Linked DNA regions of Homo sapiens: regions 2, 3, 4, 5, 6 and 7 are each linked to region 1. Evidence: promoter capture Hi-C in 16 types of primary human blood cells and fetal thymus (Javierre and others, 2016). All regions are on one chromosome and are shown on one strand. The core of a region is centred on a gene start or on the middle of the fragment in contact, and the rest is flanking DNA. Distances in the headings are between cores, read along the strand shown. Region 1 holds the start of ABTB2 (ankyrin repeat and BTB domain containing 2). Region 2 has its middle 28 kb from the start of LINC02721. Region 3 has its middle 77 kb from the start of LMO2. Region 4 has its middle 64 kb from the start of CAPRIN1. Region 5 has its middle 45 kb from the start of CAPRIN1. Region 6 has its middle 22 kb from the start of CAPRIN1. Region 7 overlaps CAPRIN1 (cell cycle associated protein 1).

Region 1 (3,660 bases), core at 392-2,891:
CTTTAATATTATATTTCCCCAATAAAGTTTTAAATTGCATAAAATTTACTTTTGTATTTTTGACAAGTTGGACCTCATTGCCTACTTTAATTTCTAATCTCACGTCTGTAAAGTGTGACTGCATTCTCCTTTGTTAGTTTGATCTCTGCTGACTTGCGTCTTTGGTATTACAGTACTTCCATCTTTGACTCTGTTCCCAATTCTAACCATCGGGCGGCGATGTTGCATAAATAAAGACCCGCGGAAAGGCAAAATTAAGCGAAACTGCCAAATAAAAAGCAGTTTCACCGGGGGTAAAGGCCATTAATTTAAGAAGGAAAGAGACAAACCAGACATTTCTAGTTCATATCCAACTCACGGCCCAAGGTCAGAACTGTGTAAAATGCAACACAAAGGAGCCATTCAGGAGTGGGGGAGGCTGACTTGGGGAGAGCGAATGCACAATCCCCGCCTTGAGCCTGCGGTTCCACTGGAGGGGGCACAGGTCCGTTTGCGCACGTGCGTGTGAGTAGCCACAGGGCAGCGGCGGGACATGCCTGCACCGGGCATGGGACTGCTGAACCAACAGCGCTCTGGCGGACCGTTTGGGACACCCGCCCGGAGGCAGGTTGGCACTGGCGCTGCCTGGAGGTCAGCCACTCATTGTACCCCGGAGGAACTGGGTCCCGCGGGGGCATACGGCTCGCCCACCGGCACGCGTTAGGAGGCGAACACCTGCATCCAGCTAGGTGTTCCGAGCTCAGCCCAGGGCGAGGGACTGCTCTGCCACCTTCTTCTCATTCTTCCTGTAAGAACACTGTCTATCTCGGACAAAAAGGACCCACCTGACAGCAAGTGGTATCGTCACACAGAGGTAACAGGGAAGTCACGGATCCTCTTGAGAATCTGACAAAAGTTGGTGCCCCTTCCCCATAGTGGCACTCAGAAAACTGCAGGTGAAACCACAAATGGGCGGAGGCACTCACAGGCTTCCTGGGGCCCGTCCATTGATCAGATACCAGGTTAAGAAATTCTGTCCTTATTGGAGCCTAGACGGCAGCGCAAAGGAACCAGACGGACTTGGAAAGAGAGGCAGGGACTCCCTCCTCCCTCCAAACACAGCCAGCGTTTCATCTCGGATTGCGGGAGGGGCCTGGCGGAAGGTGGAGGAGAGGTGGAGCGCCTGGATGGGGCCCTCCCCATTCTCCTGGCCCCAACCCCAGGACGCCTGGCTGCGGAGGGCTCGAAAGCGAGCAGCGAACGCCCAAAGCCTGGGTGGCGGGAAGGTGGCAGCGCCCTGTAGCTTTTCCTTTGCATTTTTCTTTAAATCGTGAGCTCCGGAGCTATCGTTTCGACCGCTGCTTTCCGGTCTCCACCTCCACCTCCCAGTTGGCTGGCTCGCCCTTCCCCCACCCCCCCATCCCCCCCATCCCCCCCCATCCCCACCCCCATCCCAGCCGCGTGCCCGACCCTCGGCCTCCAGCCCCGCCTCCTTCGCCGCGGGGTTTAACCCGAGGCAGAGTGAAATCTGCATAGTGACCGCCCCCTCGGAGATCATTGGTGCAGCCCCGCCCATCGCGGCCGGTGATTGGTAAGCCGCCCGGGGTTATTTGCATGTCGGACGCAGCCGGGTACCCAGCTGTGCTGCCGGCCGGCGCAGCGCAGAAGTTTGCAGAGCGCTTTCTCGCCGGCTGGTCCCGGACTCGCGCTGCGCCCTGCGCCCTGCGCCGCCGCCTCCTCCTTCTGCCGCCGCCGCCCTGTTCTCCCGGGATTCCTTCTCTGTGGAGGACTGACTCTCTGCTTGTGGGAATTAGAGGTGGACAAGGGGGAGTGCCGGGGGGTAGCGACGGGGTTCTTTCCAGTGGCAGCTGCGAGTCGGGACGCCGGGAGCGTGGGGCTCCTGCTGGCCACGGATCTCGGCCACCTTCCCGCGGCCTCCGGGCAGGCAATGCGGCCGCCGAGCCCCGCGACGCAGAGAGGAAGGAGGGTGGCCCGGAGGGCCTAGAGCTTGTTTCTGCCCACTTGGGAAAGAGGGCATGGAGTTGTGAGTGCCCCTCGCTCGGCGACGCCGCCCTCGGCAGGCTCCCCATGGCCGGGACGTACAGCTCGACTCTGAAGACGCTGGAGGACTTGACCTTGGACTCCGGGTATGGGGCCGGGGACTCGTGCCGCTCGCTCAGCCTCTCGTCCTCCAAGTCCAACTCGCAGGCGCTCAACTCTTCGGCGCAGCAGCACCGCGGGGCGGCCTGGTGGTGCTACTCCGGCTCCATGAACAGCCGCCACAACAGCTGGGACACGGTGAACACGGTGCTGCCCGAGGACCCCGAAGTGGCCGACCTCTTCTCGCGCTGTCCGCGGCTCCCCGAGCTGGAGGAGTTCCCCTGGACCGAAGGAGACGTGGCCCGGGTGCTCCGCAAAGGCGCTGGCGGCCGGCGGCTGCCCCAGTTCTCCGCCGAGGCGGTGAGGCGCCTGGCCGGGCTGCTCCGCAGGGCACTGATCCGCGTGGCCCGCGAGGCGCAGCGCCTGAGCGTGCTGCACGCCAAGTGCACCCGCTTTGAGGTGCAGAGCGCCGTGCGCCTGGTGCACAGCTGGGCGCTGGCCGAGAGCTGCGCGCTGGCAGCCGTCAAGGCGCTGTCCCTGTACAGCATGAGCGCCGGCGACGGGCTGCGCCGGGGCAAGTCCGCGCGCTGCGGCCTCACCTTCTCAGTGGGTCGCTTTTTCCGCTGGATGGTGGACACCCGAATCTCCGTGCGCATCCACGAGTACGCAGCCATCTCCCTCACCGCCTGCATGGAGAACCTGGTGGAGGAGATCCGGGCCAGGGTGATGGCCAGCCACAGCCCTGATGGCGGAGGGGCCGGAGGCGGGGAGGTGTCTGCTGAGGCCCTGGAGATGGTCATCAACAACGACGCCGAGCTCTGGGGCGTCTTGCAGCCCTATGAGCATCTCATCTGCGGCAAGAACGCCAATGGTAAGCGCGCGGGCCTCGGACTGGCAGACTGGGTAGGCAAGAAATCCCGCCCTGGGCTACTGGGGGAGTGAATTTCCTGAGACAAAGCTGGTGGCTGTGCCAGTTCTTTGGGAGAAAACGTTTGGTCTGAGGATAGGGTTCATTACATGGCACTTGCCAGAGATTGTTCTAAGGGTGTCTGACTTTTGGAGGGTAAACTTGTGAATGATCTCCATCCTGTTCTGCGTGGCATTGTTACTATCTGCGGGCTGTTCATTGATTGGGTGAGATTGAATCTCTTGACCAAGCCATTCCTGAACCTCTCTTGAAATGAAACTTACTGCCCCGTGGCTCTTTACCGTGATTGACTAGGTCTCTAGCTGCTGTCTTTCCCCAACAGCTGGTTAGATTGACTGATTCTGCCCCCTAGTTTTCCCCAGCTCAATAGCAGCAACCAAAGGGTCCCAACTTAAAGACCTGAACCTTGGATAAGTAAGATGGGCGGAGGGAAGTGGGAAGCCCAAGATCTGGTGCTGCGCCTTGTGCTTTGCTGGGCTGAAGGATGCTGTCAGGCGCTCTCTTGGGGGATGGAGGGGTAGTGGTTCGCTCTTACCTATATGTGCCCAGGAATGATGAAACCTGGGGACCCCGACTCCCCTTCCCAGAAAAGTAACCACAGATTGTCTCCTGAGACCTGATTTTTCCAAGCTGTCACCAACCAAGTGAGCCAT
Region 2 (3,660 bases), core at 730-3,229, 510 kb after region 1:
GCAAGTCTGATGAAGGGGTGGAGAAAAACTCCTGCATCAAAGAGCCATTATATATGTAACTTAAATAGTTGAGAAAAAAGTTGTCTCTGTGTGTGTGTGTGTGTATGTGTGTGTGTGTGTGTTTCAAGAGAGGGAGAGAGAGAGAGAGGAGAGAGGAGAAATGATAAAGCAAATGAGATGAACATATTAACAACAGGTGAGTCTAGGTAAAGGATGTACTGGTACACTATTTTTATTCTTGCAACTTTTCTGTAAGTTTGAAACTATTTCCAAATAAAAAGGTATTTTTTTTTAACTCACAAATCTCGGCTTTTTCTTGTTTTGGGCTTTTTGGTTTGATTAGGAGAAGAACAAGGCAGATAAAGAGAGGAAAAAATATAGTGTAGAATTCAGTAATGTACTACTGTTCATTTGTCACAACTTTAATGTACTTTTGACCTTACAAATGTACCTCAAGCAAGTAATTCCCCTCTCCACACCCACTCCCCATAATGGGAAGAATGTGTTTAGAAGGGTTCACTTAGTGCTTATTTCTGAAGCAGGTTATTTCTCAACCTTATAAAATGAGATTACCAGAAATTCTGCATTTCCTTTGTAATTAGGATCAAGATGTAATCATCTGGCCCTGAAATGTGTATATTATAGGGGTAGGAATCTAAGCTATAATGTTTTGTATGTACATCTAAGAATTGAGTTAAAAGATGTTTCAAAGCAATGAAGAAGTCACATCCATTCTCTACCAGTGGCCATGTATTAATTCTCCCGGAAAATCATTTCTCCGAGTTAATAGAATCTTTGAAGCTAAATCAAGTCAATTTCCATTGTCACATTGTGATGCTTTTGAACTGGGCTCACTGAATTATCCTATTTGATGACCACTTTAAAGATGGCTTTGTTGTGAGCCTCAGCAAACCCACAGCCGTATCTCTGTGTCAGCCTCCCCACCCCACCCCATTCATTCAAATCACTTAATGAGCAGCTCAAGGCAAATGCCCCCCGTAACTACATCCCAGGCAAAATAGATATATAGTAGGTAAAATAGCCTATGTGATGTGATTGAAAGAACACTGAAATCAGGAAACCTGATTTTGCCACTAATTAGTGGAGTGTCTTTAGGTAGGTCTCAGTTTCCTCATTTGCAAACTGAGGAGCTTACAGTAGATGATCTCTAGGAATTTGGTAGTCAGACTTTGGTTTACAGACAGGTAAGTATGGAATTTGGGAGGAAGCATTTGTGGTAGCCACTCCCCAAGGTGACCCTAGTGATTCTTGTTTCCTGGCTTCACCTCCTGTGTTGTCTCCATTCACATGGAATAGGGCTAACTTGTCTAACCAATAGGATATTGAAATGATGGAATGTGACTTCTGAGGCTAGATCCAGACTGTTGCTTCCACCTTGCTGTCTCTTGGATCACTTGTTCTGGAGAAAAAAAAACAAAAACAAAAACAAAAACAAAAAAACAGCTGTCATGCCTTGAAGCTGTTCAGACAGCTCTACATGGAGCTCCATGTGGTGAAGAGGAACTGAGGCCTCCTGCCACCAGCCAGCACTCATCTGCCCATCTTATAAATGAGCCACCTTGAAAGCAGAGCCTCTGGCCCAGTCAAAGCCTCAGACAACTGCAGTCCCAGCTTATATCTTGAATATAACCTCGTGAGAAACCCCCAAGCTGGAATCAGTCAACCAAGCTGTTCTTCAATTTCTGCCCTACAGAAGTGATACAAGATAAATAATTGTTGTTTTAAGCCACTGAGTTTTGGGGCAATTTGTTATACAATAAGCTTTTATTTTGTATGCATTTTTAAATTCTTATTTTCCCAGTCATCCACTTTTTATTATATTGTACAAAAGTGTCAATCCATGGTAGATTGAAAGTTAAAAACTCCAGAGTTCGAAAAGCGCTGATCAGAATAATACAATCTTAGATGAAGGCTGAAAAAGTTTTTGAAATTATCCAGCCCATCCTCTCACTGAGTGAATAACTTGTCTCTTACAGTTTTCTAGCAATAAAATTCTAATTCTTGGCAGCATTATCACCATTAATGTTATTAAACATGACTTTTATTGAGCATTTGCCAGGTAGATGCACTATCCTAAGTATTTTATGGTCTTTACACCAACTCTACACAGCAAATATTTCTATCTTAATTTTACAGAAGAGGAAACTGAAGCTTGGGATAAAGTCAAGACTTTAATTCATCGAGGTCATCTCATTCTAGACTATATTGCCTCTAGCTTCATTAATTTGTTTATCTCCCAAAACTTAATTTTATAGAACCAAATAACATATATATATTTTCAGACTGCTGGAAATTACTTTCTCACTTATTTTAAGGAAAAAGAGACAGAATTCAAATCCTAGGCCAGGTGCGCTGGCTCATGCCTGTAATTCCAGCACTTTGGGAGGCTGAGGTGGAGGGATTGCTTGAGCCCAAGAGTTCAAGATGAGCCTGGGAAACATAGCAAGAACCCTGTCTCTATAAAAAATAAAACAAGGGCTGGGTGCGGTGGCTCATGCCTATAATCCCAGCGCTTTGGGTGGCCGAGAGGGGTGGATCACGAGGTCAAGAGTCCAAGACCAGCCTGGCCAGGATGCTGAAACCCTGTCTCTACTAAAAATACAAAAATTAGCCAGGCATAGTGGCACATGCCTGTAATCCCAGTTACTCAGGAGGCTGAGGCAGGAGATTCGCTTGAACTCCGGCAGCAGAGGTTGCAGTGAGCTGAGATTGTGCCACTGAACTCCAGCCTGGGCAACAGAGAAAGACTCCGTCTCAAAAAAAAAAAAAAATAAATAAACAAAAAATAAAATAAAATAATTAGCCGGGCCTGGTGGCACACACCTGTGGTCCCAGCTACTTGAGGGACTGGGGGGAGGGGAGGCTGAGGTGGGAAGATAGCTTAAGCCTGAGAGGTCAAGGCTGCAGTGAGCCAAGATTGTGTCACTACATTACAGCCTGGATGACATAGTAAGACCCTGTGTAAAACAAAAATATTAATATAGCCAATGTAAACCAAGTGTTAAAAGCATTTGCCAACAATAAATGTTTTCATTGCATTTAATGTTACCTAACAAAATGGGAGGGAGTGTAAATGTATAAGAGTCATCTTTGGAGACAAATGGATGTGGTTCTAGTTAGTCTTCTCATTTGTAAATGAAGATAATATACTTACATTAGCATATCATTGTAAAAGTTATGGGTAGTCTACATGAAGCAATGAGAACAGTTGCTGGCATTCATGCATGCATGCATTCAATAAATATGTATTGAGCGTTTCCAAAAGGCCAGGCACTGTTCTTGGCAATGGAAATACAGTGGTGAGCAAGATAGCAAGGTCCCTGTTACCACAGCACTTACATTCTAGTGGGAGGAAACAAAATAAATAAATACACAAGTAAATGAACAAATTTATTTCAGAAAGTGATCAATGAATTAGGATAAAATAGAGCAATGCGATAGAATGTCAAGAGATGCAGAGAGATGTCGTTTTAGAGGAGGGAGGGCGTGGTCAGGGAAAGCCTTTGTGAGGCAGTGGCTTTGAGCTAGGACCGAATGTCAGGAAAGATTCAGTCATACATTCAGAAACAGAAGAAACAGGCAAGTGAAAGTCTTAAGTCAAGAACCCACTTGTCGAGCTTAAAGAACATCAAGAAGTCC
Region 3 (3,660 bases), core at 598-3,097, 390 kb after region 1:
ATCTATCTATCTATCTATCTATCTGCCTATCTCTCATCTATCTCTCATTTCATTAGTGTAGGATGGGCCTGATAACATTTCATGAAATTAATACTAGGGTTTTTTTTTTTAAGTTAGCCACCTGCTAAATAAATCAGTTACAGTTCTGGACTGCATCCTTTAAATGACAACACTCAGATCAGGACAGTGGAGATATTTATTTCCTAGCTCTTCTTTTCATTCTCGTGGTCACTATGCAAGATAAACATGGCCACACTGAATGATCCCAGAGTGGCCGGCTTAAAGTCTAGTTGTAGCACTGAGTGGTTCTACTCAGTATAACTGTATCTCTATTATACTTGTCACCTAGGAAATGTTGAAATTATTTCCCTAAATGCCTCATTCTCCCAGTGGACCATGCGTTTCTTGAGGGAAGAAACCATGCCCTTCATTTCTGTATTCATAGGGCCTAGCAAAGTACCTGGTACATATTAATAGTAAGTCATTAGTAAAGCTTTTTTTGAGATAGGGTCTGGCTCTGTGGTCCAGGCTGGAGTGCAGTGGCACGATCTTGGCTCACTGCAACCTCTGTCTGCCAGGCTTAAGAGATCCTCCTGCCTCAGCCTCCTGAGTAGCTGGTACTACAGGCACACACCACCACACCTGGCTAATTTTTTTATTTTTAGTAGAGACAGGGTTTTGCCATGTCGCCCAGGTTGGTCTCAAACTGCTGAGCTCAAGCGATCTGCCTGCCTTGGCCTCCCAAAGTGCTGGGACTACAGACTGAGCCACCACACCCAGCAAGCAAAGTTTAAATGAATGGATGAGTAAGTAAATGAAAGCTGTCTCCTGCAGAAATGTAATCAGAGCATGAACTGATGAAGGAACTGAGGAAGCTTAGTCTAGCCTAGAATAAAGAAGACCTGAAGGAGCTAGAACTATCTTGCAAGATGTAAAAGGCTGTTATAGGCATGAGGTTGTAGTGCAAGTTTGTGCTTCTTCAAGTGGAAGGCCAAGGAAGGCCAGTCTCTTAAACAAACAAGAATCTAACAGCAATCGCCTTTCCATCTCCTGAACCAGAGGTGGGATGGCCATCAGGTGGGAATGTGGGAGAAGGAGTTTCTGCATCGTGTGTCAGGCTGAACAAGAGGCCACTCAGGCTTGCAGCGGTCTTGTCACCACTTTGTGCCAGTGCCCAGAATAGTGCTGGCCACATAGAAGGCACTTGATAAATATTTACTGAAGAAATGAATAAACAGTCTTCTACTAATTGAAGATTCATTCAACTAACATTTATTAAATTTTTCTGTGTGTTAGGTCTGTGCTTGGCTGCAGAGGCTGTTTCAGGTAAAAGGACTCAGTCCCATCCTAAGGGGGAGTGTATCATTCTGGTTGGAGCACCAGGTAGAGCTAGACTGTCTGGGTTTGAAATCCAGCCCTGCCAATTACTTTACTTTGTTATGCCTCAGTTTCCTCAACTATAAAACGGGAGTGAAAATAGCATTCACCCGAAGGAATTATTTTGATAACTAAGTGAATTAACACTTGGCATTAACCACTCAAATGTTAATGATTATCATGGTACAGACTTTCCAGCAGGGCCACAGGTAAGTTACTATTATGTGATGGATGCTTTGATGGGTGCATCCAGACTGAAATATGTGAGCACCTGGACAGGTTAATAAATAGAAATTTTATCGAATCAATGTGCTGTAAATCTTTATTCAGTTTTGGGTTTTTTTGTAACAGAGTCTCGCTCTGTCATCTAGGCTGGAGTGCAGTGGTGCCATCATGGCTTACGGCAGACTCAACCTCCTAGACTCAAGCGATCCTCCCACTTCAGCCTCCCAAGTAACTGGGACCACAGGCATGCGCCACCACACCTGGCTAGTTTTTACAATTTTTGTAGAGATGGGGTCTCGCTATGTTGCCCAGGCTGATCTTGAACTCCTGGGCTCAAGCAGTCCTTCCACCTTGGCCTTCCAAAGTGTTGAGATTACAGGCATGAGCCACCACACTTGGCCATTTATTCAGTTTTTAAAACGGAAGAGGCTGAGCACTTGCGGAGGCAGGACTGCTGCTCACCCACCAGAGTTTTTTGGTGGTACTTTCCCTTCCTCTAGAGCTTTCTAGCATATACACTAGACATATATATTATATGTTGGGACCCTGTCAGGAGGGAAGGGCGAAGAAAGGAGGCCTGACACCCAAAGTTCTGAGCAATTCCACTCTGGCCCCAAATTCGCATTCCCCACTGGACCAAACAACCACTCCACAGTAAAACAGAGGTGACACCCTTGGAAGGCATGCCCCTTGGGGCACATTACCCCCAACCCTGAGGGACTTATCAGCATATTATTTCTAACCACATAGTGTACTATCCTGACAGGATTCTAGGAGATAAAATTTTTCTAATCTTATTACATCTCCTGTGATTTTTATTCCCCCTTGTAGATTTCTGCCCCAGGTGGTTGATCAGCTGGTCACCCCTTAACCCCTCTCTGCTCATGGGGGCTGTACAGAGTGCCCTGAGGTTGGTACCTGGTCCTGAATTGGAGGGTCAGGGAAGGGTACCTGGTCCTGAATTGGAGGGTCAGGGAAGACTAAAGGATATGTAGGAGTTAGCTATGCAAGCAGTTGGCAGGAATGGAACAGCATGTGCAAAGACCTGAGGTCGGTGGAGCATGGCACATTCAGGGGAATGGAAGTAGTTTAGTGTGGCTGGCACATAGGGCATAGGGTGTGTGCATGGAGAGGGAGAATGAAGAAAATGCTGGAGAGGTGTGCAGGCTCAAGCTCGTGAGTGGCCGTGGAGGTTGTGTTAAGGACTTTAAGCTTGATCCTGAGCCACAGTAGGTATCTCTGAAGGGTTTTAAGGAAGGTGGTGAATGGAACAGGTTTGCATTTTAGAAAGAGCACCCCATCTGGAGAAGGGATCAAGAAGGATGGGTGTGTGTATGTGTGTGTGGGTGCGTGTGCATGCGCGTGTGTGCACACTCCACCGCAAATGTGCTGGGGAAGGGATGGTGTGGTAGGTAGGGCTGGATGCAGGGAGAAGAGTTAGGAGGGTGTTGCAATACCTCCTGCAAGAGATGAGGGGACACTGAAATAAGAAAGCCACAGCATCGTGAATGGAGAGAGTTGTAAACACATTTGGGAAGAATTAACAACCTCTGGCTATTGGCTGGAAGCTGAGGATAATATTTTGGGAGTTCTCTGGCTCTTAACGACAGTATGTGCAAGATACTAGGCCAAAACCAAAGGGACAAAAATGTTACATGTGAATGCCTGACCCCCCCTTCTTGACTAGAAGTATTGTACCTACAATTTCTTTCTCTCTTCCTCCTTTTTTTTTTTCTCTTTAAAATGTCTCCTTATATAGTATACAGTAAAGAGCTTGGGTATGAGTTAGGCTGTCATTAACCACAGCAGTAAGGTTTATTATGGTGTGTATTTTCACTTATTTGAACCACATTTATTCAATTGTAAATAGGGAAGCTGGGTGTGGTTGTGTGCACCTGTAGTCCTAGCTAATCGAGAGGCTGAGGTGGGAGAATTGCTTGAGCCCAGAAGTTAAAGGCCGTAGTGCTCTATATTTGTGCCTATGAGTAGTCATTGTACTCCAGCCTGGACAACATAGCGAGACTCCATTTCTAAAAAAATAAAATTAAAAAACTTATC
Region 4 (3,660 bases), core at 315-2,814, 370 kb after region 1:
GCAGTTTCCCCTGTCTTCTCTTTCTCACCTGCTGCCATGTAAGACATGCCTTGCTTCCCCTTGGCTTTCTGCCATGATTGTAGGTTTCCTAAGGCCTCTCCATCCATGCAGAACTGTGTGTCAATTAAACCTCCTTTCTTTATAAAGTATCCACTTTTGGATATGTCTTTATAGCAGGGCGAAAATGGACTAATACATACTCTTAGATGATACACTGTGTTTACTTACCGTATCAGTACCTACAGGATTCTGCTTATTCCAGAAAGTCCACACATCCTAGTGTGGAAAACCTGGGCTTAGCCCATCCTAGGTGTAGACTGCAGAGCCCTTGCGTAGATGCTTTTGACAGAATCACCTCCATATGAGTTTCATGTCCTATTTGTCCAAGAAGTTGAGCATTCATGCAATGTCTCCTTAAACCCCTTATTTAAGCTCTCCAAATCTCAGTCTTCTCATCTATAAAATGGGAAGAATAGCACCTATCATCGAGGTATGTTGTGAAGTTTAAACAAATAATACATAAGGCCGGGCATGGTGGCTCATTCCTGTAATCCCAGCACTTTGGGAGGCTGAGGGGGGTGGATCGCTTGAGTCTAAAAGTTCAAGACCAGCCTGGGTGACATGGTAAAACCTTGTCTCAAAAAATAAAAACAAAAACACACAAAAAACTAGCCGGGCATGGTGGCGCATGCCTCTAGTGCCAGCTACCCGGGGGGTGGGGGGTGGGTGGGGAGGCTGAAGTGAGAGGATCGCTTGAGCCCGGGAGGCGGAGGTTACAGTGAGCTGAGATTGTGCCATGGCACTCCAGCCTGGGTGACGGAGAGAGAACTTGTCTCGAAAAAAAAAAAAAGAAAAGCTTAGAGTCTGGTGAAGATGACTTTTATATTTTTCAGTGAGAGAAACTATTTCTAAAAAGAACTCTAAGGTCACTGGGAGGAGCAACAGCAGCAGCATTGACAAGAGGGTCTCTTACACCAAGTCAACGTTCGTCGGTTGCATATTAAAGAATAAGAGCTGGGCAGCACTGTGGATGCCCCTCAAGGCTCAAGGGGGCGCTCTAAGCTTCAATTCTAGGGACTTGGCAAGCACATTCAGCCAGGGCTTGTGCTTTGAATACAAGCAGAGGCAGGGGAGTTTTGCAGAGAAGGAGGTAGGTGGGCTGTGCTTAGGAAAATTGGATTTTCTGCCAGTCTGGGCATGTGGAAGCTTGAGAGATGCATTTGGGAACATTTTTGGGAAAATATTTTTTACCTCTCAAATTCTACAATTGAATATGGTAACTTAAATATATGTATATATTTAGGTTATATACATTAAACATGCTATTGTAAAAATTTCAAATATTAGAGAAAGTGTAGCTTTGAAGGTGAAAGTCCCCCCACTATGGCCCTTCCACTTAAAGAAGAAAAAGTGTTAAGCGTATTTGTTATGCATATTTGCTATGTAAAGTGTTAAGCGTATTTGCTATGACTAAATTAACTACTCAGCTAAATCACTATATGTATACAAGAACATACGCATATGTTTTTATATAAGTATAAGTGCTGACATTTATTTTTTATTTATTTATTTTTTGAGACATGGTCTTGCTTTGTCACCCAGGCTGAAGTGCAGTGGTGCCATCTTGGCTCACTGTAACCTCTGCCTACTGTGTTCAAGTGATTCTTGTGCCTCAGCCTCCCGAGTAGCTGGGACTACAGGCATGTGCCACCATGCCTGGCTAATTTTTAAATTTTTGGTAGAGACAGGGTTTCGCCATGTTGGCCAGTCTGGTCTCGAACTCCTGACCTCAAGTGGTCCGCCTGCCTCGGTCTCCCAAAGTGCTGGGATTACAGGTATGAGCCACCATGCCTAGCCATGAATGCTGACATTTAGCTTCACAAGGCTAACTTGAGCTGTGAAGCAAAAGCCTGGAAAGCTTGTGTCGTGTGGCCCAGGACATGCTCTTCCCATGAGCAAGTAGCACAAAAAGCAAATTATCAGAAACTTACGATCTGAGTGTGGAAACAAAACAAAGGGAGGAAATTAATCTTCTGAAATTTCTCTCAACTAAGAGGGTACCCTTCTCTTACTCCCCCTCCAGCACATCCGGGAACTAGTATCTCACAGCACATATTTTGAAAAATGCTGACTTTCTGTTTGTCATTTTTAGGTTTCCTTAAAGCAGAAATTATAGCTAGGTTATGTTGTTGCCTTTTAAATTATTTTTTTTTTAGTTTATTTTTTTATTGATCATTCTTGGGTGTTTCTCGCAGAGGGGGATTTGGCAGGGTCCTAGGACAATAGTGGAGGGAAGGTCAGCAGATAAACAAGTGAACAAAGGTCTCTGGTTTTCCTAGGCAGAGGACCCTGGGGCCCTCCGCAGTGTTTGTGTCCCTGGGTACTTGAGATTAGGGAGTAGTGATGACTCTTAACGAGCATGCTGCCTTCAAGCATCTGTTTAACAAAGCACATCTTGCACCACCCTTAATCCATTTAACCCTGAGTGGACACAGCACATGTTTCAGAGCGCACAGGGTTGGGGGTAAGGTCACAGATCAACAGGATCCCAAGGCAGAATAATTTTTCTTAGTACAGAACAAAATGAAAAGTCTCCCATGTCTACTTCTTTCTACACAGACACGGCAACCATCCGATTTCTCAATCTTTTCCCCACCTTTCCCCCCTTTCCACTCCACAAAACCGCCATTGTCATCATGGCCCGTTCGCAATGAGCTGTTGGGTACACCTCCCAGACGGGGTGGTGGCCAGGCAGAGGGGCTCCTCACTTCCCAGTAGGGGCGGCCGGGCAGAGGCACCCCTCACCTCCCGGACGGGGCGGCTGGCCCGGGCCGGGGGGCTGACCCCCCCCACCTCCCTCCCGGACGGGGTGGCTGGCCTGGCGGGGGCTGACCCCCACCTCCCTCCCGGACGGGGTGGCTGCCGGGCGGAGACGCTCCTCACTTCCCAGACAGGGTGGCTGCTGGGCGGAGGGGCTCCTCACTTCTCAGACGGGGTGGTTGCCAGGCGGAGGGTCTCCTCACTTCTCAGACGGGGCGGCTGGGCAGAGACGCTCCTCACCTCCCAGATGGGGTCGCGGCCGGGCAGAGGCGCTCCCCACATCTCAGACGATGGGCGGCCGGGCAGAGACGCTCCTCACTTCCTAGATGGGATGGCCAGGAAGTGAGGACTGGGCAGCCAGGCAGAGAGGCTCCTCACGTCCCAGACAATGGGCAGCCAGGCAGAGACACTCCTCACTTCCCAGACGGGGTGGCGGCCGGGCAGAGGCTGCACTCTTGGCACTTTGGGAGGCCAAGGCAGGCGGCTGGGAGGTGGAGGTTGTAGCGAGCCGAGATCAAGCCACTGCACTCCAGCCTGGGCACCATTGAGCACTGAGTGAACCAGACTCCGTCTGCAATCCCGGCACCTCGGGAGGCCGAGGTTGGCGGATCACTTGCGGTTAGGAGCTGGAGACCAGCCCGGCCAACACAGCGAAACCCCGTCTCCACCAAAAAAATACGAAAACCAGTCAGGCGTGGCAGCGCGCGCCTGCAATTGCAGGCACACGGCAGGCTGAGGCAGGAGAATCAGGCAGGGAGGTTGCAGTGAGCCGAGATGGCAGCAGTACAGTCCAGCTTTGGCTCGGCATCAGAGGGAGACAGTGGGGAGAGGGGGAGGGGG
Region 5 (3,660 bases), core at 715-3,214, 350 kb after region 1:
CCTCTGTCCGCTACCAGCAGTTCACCCCCACCAGTGTCCCACCAGCTTCTGTGATGAGGTAGACGACCTTGCTCCACCATAGCAAGCTGATTGCAGCCCTCTGATGCTTGAGAGCAGCTGAGAAACCGAAACTTCAAGAATGATTCTGCCCAGCCAGGTGTGTTGGCTCATGCCTGTAATCCCAGCACTTTGGGAGGCCAAGACAGGTAGATTACTTGAGATCAAGAGCTCGAGACCAGCCTGGCCAACATGGTGAAACCCCGTCTCTACTAAAAATACAAAAATTAGCCGGTGTGGTGGCATGTGCCTGTAATGCCAGCTACTCTGGAGGGCGAGGCAGGAGAATCGCTTGAACCCAGGTGGTGGAGTTTGCAGTGAGCCGAGATCATGCCATTGCACCCAGCCTGGTTGATGGAGTGAGACTTTGTCTCAAAAAAAAAGGCCAGGTGCAGTGGCTCATGCCTGTAATCCCAGCACTTTGGGAGGCTGAGGTGGCTGGATCACGAGGTCAGGAGCTTGAGACTAGCCTGACCAACATGTTGAAACCCCGTCTCTACTAAAAATACAAAAATTAGCTGGGTGTCGTGGCGCGTGCCTGTAATCCCAGCTACTCAGGAAGCCAAGGCAGGAGAATCGCTTGAACCCGGGAGGCGGAGGTTGCAGTGAGCCAATATCGTGCCACTGCACTCCAGCCTGGGCGACAGAGCGAGACTCCATCTCAAAAAAAAGAAAAAAAAAAAAAAGAATGCCTTTGCCCAGCCCAGCTGAGCTACCAAATTTAACGGGTGTGCCTGCTCTCCTAGTTACCTTAGAACAGCCTTCAAGGTGTCTCTTTCCTAAACAGAAACCCAAATGGACAACAGAGCAAAAGATTCTTGCCGAAGCCTAGAGAGGAAAGACTGGGATCCATATTTAAACACTTGGTTTATCCCCCTCTCTTTATTCTTCCTCCCACAATACCTCTGAGGCCAAGAAGGGGCAGCATTGTCCTCCTTCTTCTTCCTGTATGGAACGCTACAGTTCACTAGCCTGGACCTTGATAAATAAAGATAGACGTAAAGGAAGATCCACAGTCCTCTCTTGCTAGAGTAGTGCATGAAAATCCTATTTTTGAGTGTCAGAAGCTGGATTTCCTCTTTGCATTCCTCTGTAACACTTTTAATCTCCCCAGGCAAAAGGATGCCTCAGGAAGACAAGGGTGGAAGTCATGTGTTCTGACAAGCTAAATATAAAAGCACATGAGTAATTTTCAAATGACCAGTATTACCTCCATTTCACTTGTCATCAGAATGTCCTAATTAATACCCACCTACTCAGACTTGCAATAAAACTACAGCTGCCCCAAAGCCAGGCACCTCCATAATTGATCCTCTTTCCACTACAATGGTGGTAATAGCTAACATTTATGAACATTTACTATGTACTATGCAGTTTATTTCGTTTAATTCTCATAACAACCCTATGTTGTAAATACTACTGTTACACCCATTTTACTGATGAGGAAACAGCCTTAGTGAGGTGACCTGCTCAAGGTTACATACGTAGTAAGTGATAGAGGAGGAATCTGAAGCTTGGTTTTCAGCTTCTAGCTGCTTCCTTCCTAGTTTTTACCTACTAGTCTCCACTGCTTCCCATTTGATCACCATATACACAATGGTTAGGTCTTTAGACTGAACCAACCAATTTAACCCAACTGGAGTAGAAGCAGTTTTTCCAAGATCTTTCCTACCAACTGAAGTTAATTGAAATGTACAATAAAATCTGAGAGGATGTGTTTATGTCAAAACTACAGTTGGCTAACTTAGAAGTTATTGCTTCTAGAAATCTTGGCAGTAGTGATAGTTTAATTACCTTAAGTGAAGATACTAGCTTAAAAACAGGACAGGTGTGGTGGCTCACGCCTGTAATCCCAGCACTTTGGGAGGTTGAGGCAGGTGGATCACCTGAGGTCAGGAGTTTGAGAGCAGCCTGACCAACATGGCAAAACCCCATCTCTACCAAAAATACAAAAATCATCTGGGTGTGGTGGTGGGCACCTGTAATCCCAACTACTTGGGAGGCTGAGGCAGGAGAATAGCTTAAACCTGGGAGGCAGAGGTTGCAGTGAGCCAAGATCACGCCATTGCACTCCAGCATGGGTGACAGAGCAAGACTCCATCTCAAAAGCAAAAAACAAAAAACAAAAACAACAGGCAATGCTTCAATAAGAACAATGCAATGTACCTTGGCTTTAAAGCCAAAGCATGTTGCAATTAAGTTATAGATTAATAAATCATTGTTCTAACCTTTATTTTCCCTTTGCCCTAATTCTTCATCTGTACTTTATCCTTTTATATGGAATGATTTTTTAAAGCTTCTGCAAATACTGTTGGGAATGAAGTAGGAAGAGTTAGTAAATGAATGAATGAGTGCATGAATCACTGCATTGAAAAGGTTAAATAATAACAACTAAATTTTGTATGCCACTTTGTAGTCTTGTACACATTCTTTACCATTAACTGTGAACTTTTCAGAGACCAATTCTGCACTTATCTTTGTGTCACCAGGATCTGACACAATTCATTCATTCAATAAATATGTTTGGAACTTCAGAAAAAATGATAGTACAAAGAGCTTGTCTTCAAAGCGCTTATAATGCACCGGATAGTGCCAGGTCTATTGGAAGAACTCGGTGAATATTCACGAAATAAATCTCTCTTCATCTCCACAAAAGAACCTTGTGTGAAAAATCATTTCTAGTTTTAAGAAAGATGTAGAGAAACCATATGTCCTGTTCGTGGTGGCATATTGGAAAGAGAGATGGCCAGATATTCGAATCCAGGTATTTGGACCCCAAAGTCCTTGCTCTTTCTACCACATTAACAAAAACCACACAAGGCAGGTGGACACAGGTTTTTTCCATCTGTCTAGCATTTCTGTGGGTACCCACCAAGGTGCCGAGGGAGGATGCAGGTGAAGCACACCTTCCCAATCAGAGGCCTGCATGCTCCTGGGCATGAAATATCCAGAAATGTGCACATTACTCATGCCAAGCCAATAGCAATAACTGTCTTCCCCCAAACTTGGCATCTTTAAACAAGGATGCATTATTTCTTGTGATTCTGTGGGTTGACAGGGTGTTCTTCTACCCTGTGTGGCGTTGGCTGGATTTACTCACAGCTGCATTCTGCTGTCAGCTGGGCTGAGCTGAAAGGTCCAGGACCCTAGTAATGACTGTCTGCTGAGGTGCCTCGATTTTCCTTCATGGGCCTCCTTCCATGTGGCATCTCATCCTTCAGGGCCTCTCTGTGGGGCCTCCATCCAGTGACATAGCCTGGACTTCTTTACAGCATGGCAGTTGGGTTCCTAGACAGCAAAGCAAAGGCTGTTTGTCTTTCAAAGGCCTGGGTTCAGAAGTTCCAGAATGCGTGTTGGTCAAAGAAACCATCTCAGGTTCAGGAGGAAAGGAAATAAACTCCACCTCTTGACGGGAGAAGTGGCATGCTCACACAACAAAGCGAAGAACTGTTCATGGGAATCTACCCCGGAGCCCTCTCCATGACAATTATAACACCCATTTTCCTGGGAATCACAGAGGCTAAGAATCACACACACCCAGAGCTGCTAGGGCCATCTTTGCAGCCCGGGGACAAAGCCTGCTTGAGGACGAAGCCATTCCAG
Region 6 (3,660 bases), core at 805-3,304, 330 kb after region 1:
ATAACTCTTAGGTCTTGGACTTCACATGCTGGCTCATAAAAATGAAGTCACAACTATGCCAGTACACCTCATCTTGATGCTCAAAGGCCTTACTGGATTGACTAGCAGGGATTCCAATCATTTCCAGTGTTTTCTCTGAAAGTATTTGGAAAGGGGTTGTAGAACTGAAAATTGGGATGCTCTTACAAGAATAATCTCATTGATACTTGGCTTGAATTCTGGGAAAGCTCCAAACCCTGACTTACTTGATTTGAAGGTGGTATGTTATCACTCAGGTTTCTCTCTTTCCTAACATTTGTGAAATTCCCAGGGAAAATTATACGTGCCCATAAATCACTCGTGGCCATTGTTTGCTGCTAGCCTGCTAGTAGAGGGACAAGTCATGTGTGCCCTTTCAGGAACAAACACAAATGGGAGTCACGATCATGCTGGAGGTTCAATCCTAACAGAATGTTAGAACTGCAGTAGGGAAAGGGGTGGCATTTGGAGTCAGAGAGCAGCCAACTCTCTGAGGACTGCAGGTGGAATCTTCCTCTGGCACCAATGTCCTAGAGGGGTACAAAGAACTCTACAAGGTCTTCTGAGGAGGCTAATGAGCCAAAGTTGATACTAACTTAACCTGTTAGTCCTCATGAAGAGAGTACAACTTGGGATAATTCTCCCTGCACTCATTTTGTGCGCACATTAATTAAAAAAAAATAGATACATGGTCTTGCCATGTTGCCCAGGCTGGTCTTGAATTCCTGGGCTCAGGCAGTCCTCCTGCCTTGGCTTCCCAAAGTACTGGGATTACAGGCATGAGTCACTGTACCCAGCCCTGCATGTTAAATTTTTTTTAAAAAGAAAAGAACAGGCTGGATGCAGTAGCTCATGCCTGTAATCCCAGTACTTTGGGAGGCCGAGTTGGGTGGATCACCTCAGGTCAGGAGTTCGAGACCAGCCTGGCCAACATGGTGAAACCCCATCTCTACTAAAAATACAAAAAATTAGCCTGGCGTGGTGGCAGGCGCCTGTAACCTCAGCTGGGCGGGAGGCTGAGGCAGGAGAATTGCTTGAACCCAGGGGGTGGAGGTTGCAGTGAGCCAAGATGGTGCCATTGCACTTCAGCCTGGGTGACAGAGCAAGACTCTGTCAAAAAAAGAAAAAAAAAAAGGGAAAAGAACAAAACCAACTTAACCAACTTCACTTCTGTTACTTCTCAAGATAAGACTAGATTTTTATTGCCCCCCCCCCTTTAATTGGCTATGGAAAAACAGTGGGGCCACTCAGAAATACCTGTGTGTAACCTTGCTCGGGGCTAGTGCAGGGCAAGTCCTTACAGAGCCAGGGACTTACCAGGACATAAAATATCTGCCTCATGAGTCTTAGAAGGTCTAAAAGTATAGTACTATGTGCCCTCTGGGCATGCATGCTCAAGTTAACTGGAAATTAGGGCAAGTAAGCAGAGCTTGGCAACAGAATTTGAATATACTCCCAGAGGTTCTCCATTGTGGAGTTTAGGGAATTAGGCATCCATTCATTTAAATAAATATTTATGGGCACAATCAGAATCACCAGGAGCAGTTTTTTTCCCCTAAAATACACATGTCTTTATAAGCTTGCTTTGCACAGTCCTTCAGAGGCTATTTATTTCTTCCCACACACTATGCCTGAAATTTAAGTAATATAAAAAAGATGAATGATGGTACCCATGTAGGATTACATGTCAAAATGGATTGTTATTCTTAAGTCTTAGGTAACTACTCTGATAAAACGTCCTCAATAGATTCTCTGCAGAAATCATTAATAAAGCAATTGCTAATTGTAGAGAAAAAAAGAAATAAACCCAATAAGGTCAAGTACTTTCTTATAATAATTATGGCCACCATTTACTGACCACCTACTCTGTGCCAAGAACACATCTTGTATGTTTTCTTTTCTATTCTATTCTTTTTTTTTTTTTGACAGAGTCTCACTCTGTCACCCAGGTTGGAGTACAGTGACGCGATCTTGGCTCACTGCAGCCTCTACCTCCTGGGCCCAAGCAGTCCTCCCACCTCAGCCACCTAAGTAGCTGGGACCACAGGCGTGCCACCATGCCCGGCTAATTTTTTGTGTTTTTTGTAGAGACGGGGTCTTGCCATGTTGCCTAGGCTGAGCTTGAACTTCTGAACTCAAGTGATTCACCTGCCCTGGTCTCCCAAAGTGCTGGGATTACAGGTGTGAGCCACCATGCCTGGCTTATATGTTTTTATTTAATCTCTACAATGACCCAGTGAGGCGGGTTACTCTCTCCATTTTACCAAAAAGAGAACATGGAGACTTGGAGAGTTTACATGTTCAGCTTAGTTTACATGATCTAGAGCTACAGTTTAGATCAGAGTAAACTGAGGCTTTGTCTGATGTTGGGCCTAAAATTTAGAGGGACAAGAAAACAATTATTTTAAAATGCTACATTTTAAAGTGGCTTCTTCCTTTAGGAAAGAGTTTCCACCTTTATATCCCTACCTCTGGCTTTGGTGGCAAGCTTTCCTGTATACTGGGACACCGCCCTTTGGCAACCTACCGAGATCTGACTATGTGAGAACCCTCACTGCCTTTCCATTTCTGCTTTAAGATAAATGTTATGCTCTTTGTCATGGTGCTGGATTTGAGCCCAGCTGAATGTTTTTTGTTTTTTGTTTTTTTTTTCTTTTTTGAGACGGAGTCTAGCTCTGTCACCCAGGCTGTAGTGCAGTGGCATGATCTCAGTTCACTGCAACCTCCACCTCCCGGGTTCAAGTGATTCTCCTGTCTCAGCCTCCCAAGTAGCTGGGATTACAGGTGCCCACCACCACGCCCAGCTAATTTTTGTACTTTTAGTAGAGATGGGGTTTCACTGTGTTGGCCAGGCTGGTCTCGAACTCCTGACCTCATGATCTGCCCGCCTCGGCCTCCCAAAGTGCTGGGATTACAAGTGTGAGCCACCGCCCCCGGCCCTGAATGTTGGTCTTTAAAGACCAAGGAAACTATCTTTTCCTCCTGTTCCTTTTCTTCCTCTTCCCCCTCCTTTTTAAAAATTAAACTTCTGCTACTTATAGAAAACAAATCTCATCTAACATAGAAACTTCACTTAGAGCCAAAAGCCTTCTAGAACTTGGGGCCTTAACACAGCTTGGCTTTCAAAGCTTTGGAGCTGGAAGCCAGACTGAAGTGCCTGAGCCTGGAGTTTGCTACATCTGCTCTTGGATGCTGCCAGCTCACTCAGTTGAAATCTGAGTTCTGTAAAGAGAAGTTTCTGCTCAACAATGTCACCCTGGCACTCGGCCTCTATGCCTGCTGAAACTCTGGCAGGCTACAGCCTGGACTAGGGCTGTTGGTCATTTCCTCAAGGTGCTCTAAGCCAAGATCACCCTGCATTCCCTCTGCATAGCTCCTCAGTGTCAACTCTTGAAGCCTCCCTTCAAGGGCATTGAGGCACGACCCAGAACCTTCAGTTTCCTTAGCATGAGGCAGAAGTGAACCCACTGGTTCAGGATCTTCAGGCTCTTCCTATCGTCATGGGGAGTTTTTCTGTTTTTTTTTTTTTTTTTTTTTTTTGGTCTTTCCTATCATAAGTGCTTTGTAAGGGTCACCCAAGTCCACCCTGGCAGGTTCCATTAACTTTCAGTTTCAGACTACGAAGGTGAAAAACTTGATCTT
Region 7 (3,660 bases), core at 1-2,500, 290 kb after region 1:
TTACTGGAAAGACAAAAAACCACAGAATTAATTTTTGTCTTTAAAATAGTGAGCATTAGGTCTAAAATAAAAAATATAACATCTTTACCAGCTGATCTTGATTAAGCCTTTCCCCTTTGTTCATTCGTTCCTGGTAATCATCAAGCTTACCCTATGTTAAAAGAAAAAAAAGAATTACATTCCGTTTTGAAGGTATATACCAGCTTAAGCATGCTTGACAAAACCCTCACAATCCTCTAAGTTTGTCTCAAATTTTGACTTAAATAAACTTTTAAGATATATTCCAGTTTAAGTACATAAATTTTTTTTTTTTGAGACAGAGTTTCGCTCGTCACCCAGGCTAGCGTGCAATGGCACGATCTTGTCTCAATGCAACCTCTGCCTCCCACGTTCAAGCTATTCTACTGCATCAGCCCCTAAAGTAGCTGGGATTACAGGCACTCACCACCACGCCCAGCTAATTTTTTTGTATTTTTTGTAGAGACAGGGTTTCACCATGTGGCCAGGCTGATCTCAAACTCCTGACCTCAGGTGATCCACCTGCCTCGGCCTCCCCAAGTGTTAGGATTACAGGCATGAGCCACCGCGCCCAGCCTAAGTACATAAAACTTTTTAGATATACTCCAACCATTGCTGAATGATATCAAAGGCTGTACTGTAAACCAATGGCACAACATTATTCATTCTTTAGCTTAATCAAGAAAGAGTATTAGATGGACTAGGCATATGGCTCCTACCCACATGGGTAAGGGCCACAATTTGGTTAGGATCCTGCTTATACCCAAGTGAGCATATCAGACATTTATCAAGTTAAATTTTTGCCTCTCCCTCTCCCCAAAGAATTCATGTGACTAGGTGATATAAGAGTATTTTTAGGCTGAACACGGTGGCTCACACCTGTAATCCCAGCACTTTGGGAGGCCAAGGTGGGCGGATCACCTGAGGTCAGGAGCTCGAGACCAGCCTGACCAACATGGAGAAACCTCGTCTCTACTAAAAATACAAAATCAGCTGGGCATGGTGGTGCATGCCTGTAATCCCAGCTACTCAGGAGGCTGAGGCGGGAGAATCACTTGAACCCAAGAGGCAGAGGCTGCGGTGAGCCGAGATCGCACCATTGCACTCCAGCCTGGGCAACAAGAGTGAAATTTTGCATCCAAAAAAAAAAGAGTATTTTTTCGGGCCAGGCACGGTGGCTCCTGCCTGTAATCCCAGCATTCTGGAAGGCCAAGGTGGGTGGATCATTTGAGGTCAGGAGATTAAGACCAGCCTGGCCAACATGATGAAACCCCATCTCTACCAAAAAACACAAAAATTAGCTGGGTATGGTGGTACGAGACTGTAGTCCCAGGTACTTGGGAGGTTGAGGTGGGAGAATCACTTGAACCCTGGAGGTGAAGGCTGCAGTTAGCTGAAATAATGCCAAAACTCCAGCCTAGGCGACAGCGTGAGATGCTGCTCCCCACCCCAAGGGGAAAAAAAGTATTTTTTTTCTGAATAAACTCATGGGCATATTGTCTTTAATGTACTTCATCCATTTATCTTGAACAAGATAGCTACCACCTCACTAATACACAAGTCAACAGCTTTGCTTTGTTAGTTCAAGGGTGAGGACAGAAAACTAACATCTGGTTTAAGATCCCATTTTCTTGCTAAGATTAAAACTTTGCAGGTTTCCCAGGCTACTATTAAGTAAGACCCCACAGATATTCAGGTAATGCAACAGAGTCACAAACTATTATTATTGTAAAGGTCAAGAGGACAGTGAATGAGGATAAATCTAAATTAACAGGACAACACTTAATCCCAATAAATTATGAACATACATAGTTCCTTACCCCCTTACCAATAATAAAATTGTGAAACAAAGTACAAAGTTAAATTCTAATAAAGGGCATTCAGAAACCACAGAAGCCAGTTTAAAAGCAATGGTAATAAGTTTTGTTTTTTCTTTTTTTTTTTTTTTTTTAGGTCAAATGATCTATTTTCTTTGTACCATAAACAAATGTCAACTTGCCTAGCCATTCTACCCCAAATTGAAAACCCTACCACAATTCCTTCCTAACACTGGAGGTAAATAAAACCAAGATAATCACTAAGACATTAAAGGCTTTTAATAGTACCCAATTTTATTATTAGATGAACTATTTCACACCATCTATAAGCCTCCAAATAAACAGGTATAAAATTTCAGTCTACTGATTTGAGGGAAAAAAATTTTTTTTTACACTGATATGACAGACCTGACCCCAGGTGCAGAAGATGTGTCCAATTACCTCACAAAATACTCTGAGGATCAACAGATAGTTCATTCTCTTTTTTAAAAGGGAAGAAAAGGGAAGACTCATAAGCTTGGGAAGCTAAAAATTTTTAAAATAAAAAATTCTATTTGCTTAAAGGGTAGGCTATTTTTAAGAAATAAAAAACTAGACCAGGCCCGGTGGCTCACACCTGTAATCCCAGCATTTTGGGAGGCCAACGTCGGCAGATAACAAGGTCATGAGTTCAAGACCAGCCTGGCCAACACTGTGAAACCCCGTCTCTACCAAAAATACAAAAATTAGCCAGGCATGGTGGCGCGCACTTGTAATCCCAGCTACTCAGAAGGCTGAGGCAGGAGAATCGCTTGAACCCGGGAGGCAGAGGTTGCAGAGAGCTGAGATCATGCCACTGCACTCCAGCCTGGGACAAAGCGAGACTCCATCTTAAAAAAAAAAAAAAAAAACTAAATAAGTTTTGAATTTATGATTTAGGATATTCCAAAATAATAATATTATAATCACAATTCCTCTATTTAAAAATATACAAACAGAAAATACGCAAATAGGAGGGCCTAAAGTTCAGTGCTAGTACACAGTTCATTATTACTGAACAAAAGAAACACTGTTATTAACTTATACCTGGTATTTACTATCTTCATTTTTCTATAGTATTGTACATTTTTCAAGAAAATTGTTGCTAAATCTAGAAATACACCATACATCCCTCATGGGGTAGAGTTTGTATATCTAACCAAAATGGAGGTAGAATCAAACTCCTAAAAAATGTTTGTGTAGCGATGAAAATAAATATAAAAAGATAAACAATGAAAAAGGTAAGAATGGTACCTGAGTGGTAAAATTATAGCCAGAGCTGTGTTCCTTTTGCTTTGTTTTATACACTTAACTACTGTGCAATGAACATATAGTTTGTTTAATGAAAACAATAAGAATTCCACGCAACAGAAAAGATACTAAAATTGACAGACTTCAGTACATTGTTAGGACTCTCACCAATAACAATCCTTAATTATGAACCTATACTATCCTATAGTAGGACAAGCTATCCTAGAGTAGAAAACCTCCAATTTTCTACACAATAACAAATTTAGAATTCATCCAAACCGAGAGCTATCGCAGATTACATTTTCCAAAGATAGCTACAAAATCTGCATGCAGTCTCACATACTGTTCTAAAATGTGACCTTGGCACTACTCCATTAACAACTAGTCTACTTCCCCTGCCATTGTACTTGAGTGAGCTTCAACCAAGAGTACTGTATAAGTGATGCTGTATGATTTCCAAGGCTGAGTCATAAAAGCAATCTATCTCTGCCTTGTTTGCTGGTGATCCAAACACCTTGTATTTGGAGCCTTCAGCCATCATACAAATACAGTAACT

The links. Contacts are between HindIII fragments. The CHiCAGO score rates a contact against its expected background, and 5 or more counts as called.
Region 2: a contact is called between a fragment that was not itself captured here and the fragment with the promoter of ABTB2 in region 1, in 13 of 17 cell types (naive CD4 T cells, activated CD4 T cells, naive B cells and 10 more). The highest score is 11.2, in naive CD4 T cells.
Region 3: a contact is called between a fragment that was not itself captured here and the fragment with the promoter of ABTB2 in region 1, in 1 of 17 cell types (neutrophils). The highest score is 5.5, in neutrophils.
Region 4: a contact is called between a fragment that was not itself captured here and the fragment with the promoter of ABTB2 in region 1, in 8 of 17 cell types (non-activated CD4 T cells, naive CD4 T cells, activated CD4 T cells and 5 more). The highest score is 7.8, in non-activated CD4 T cells.
Region 5: a fragment that was not itself captured here is called in contact with the fragment with the promoter of ABTB2 in region 1 in 17 of 17 cell types (naive B cells, naive CD4 T cells, M0 macrophages and 14 more); the score reaches 10.4 in naive B cells.
Region 6: a fragment that was not itself captured here is called in contact with the fragment with the promoter of ABTB2 in region 1 in 4 of 17 cell types (total CD8 T cells, naive CD4 T cells, non-activated CD4 T cells and 1 more); the score reaches 7.0 in total CD8 T cells.
Region 7: a fragment that was not itself captured here is called in contact with the fragment with the promoter of ABTB2 in region 1 in 3 of 17 cell types (megakaryocytes, fetal thymus and M0 macrophages); the score reaches 6.0 in megakaryocytes.

The regions. Positions count from the first base shown.
Region 1 is chr11:34,355,991-34,359,650 of GRCh38, reverse strand. It overlaps ABTB2 (ankyrin repeat and BTB domain containing 2), which reads left to right and starts at 1,641. Exons shown (of 17, transcript NM_145804.3): 1 at 1,641-2,950. The coding sequence starts at 2,068. RefSeq lists a silencer at 1,456-1,655 and an enhancer at 2,606-2,715. The HindIII fragment of the contact is 9,392 bases long and covers 1-3,660 here.
Region 2 is chr11:33,848,795-33,852,454 of GRCh38, reverse strand. No RefSeq gene overlaps it. Among named protein-coding and RNA genes, the nearest start is that of LINC02721, 28 kb to the right of the region's middle. The HindIII fragment of the contact is 390 bases long and covers 1,785-2,174 here.
Region 3 is chr11:33,967,049-33,970,708 of GRCh38, reverse strand. No RefSeq gene overlaps it. Among named protein-coding and RNA genes, the nearest start is that of LMO2, 77 kb to the right of the region's middle. RefSeq lists a silencer at 793-1,087. The HindIII fragment of the contact is 1,939 bases long and covers 878-2,816 here.
Region 4 is chr11:33,985,565-33,989,224 of GRCh38, reverse strand. No RefSeq gene overlaps it. Among named protein-coding and RNA genes, the nearest start is that of CAPRIN1, 64 kb to the left of the region's middle. The HindIII fragment of the contact is 712 bases long and covers 1,209-1,920 here.
Region 5 is chr11:34,004,613-34,008,272 of GRCh38, reverse strand. No RefSeq gene overlaps it. Among named protein-coding and RNA genes, the nearest start is that of CAPRIN1, 45 kb to the left of the region's middle. The HindIII fragment of the contact is 783 bases long and covers 1,573-2,355 here.
Region 6 is chr11:34,028,275-34,031,934 of GRCh38, reverse strand. No RefSeq gene overlaps it. Among named protein-coding and RNA genes, the nearest start is that of CAPRIN1, 22 kb to the left of the region's middle. The HindIII fragment of the contact is 909 bases long and covers 1,600-2,508 here.
Region 7 is chr11:34,068,217-34,071,876 of GRCh38, reverse strand. CAPRIN1 (cell cycle associated protein 1) reads right to left here. Exons shown (of 19, transcript NM_005898.5): 3 at 89-151. Among named protein-coding and RNA genes, the nearest start is that of CAPRIN1, 18 kb to the right of the region's middle. The HindIII fragment of the contact is 2,206 bases long and covers 148-2,353 here.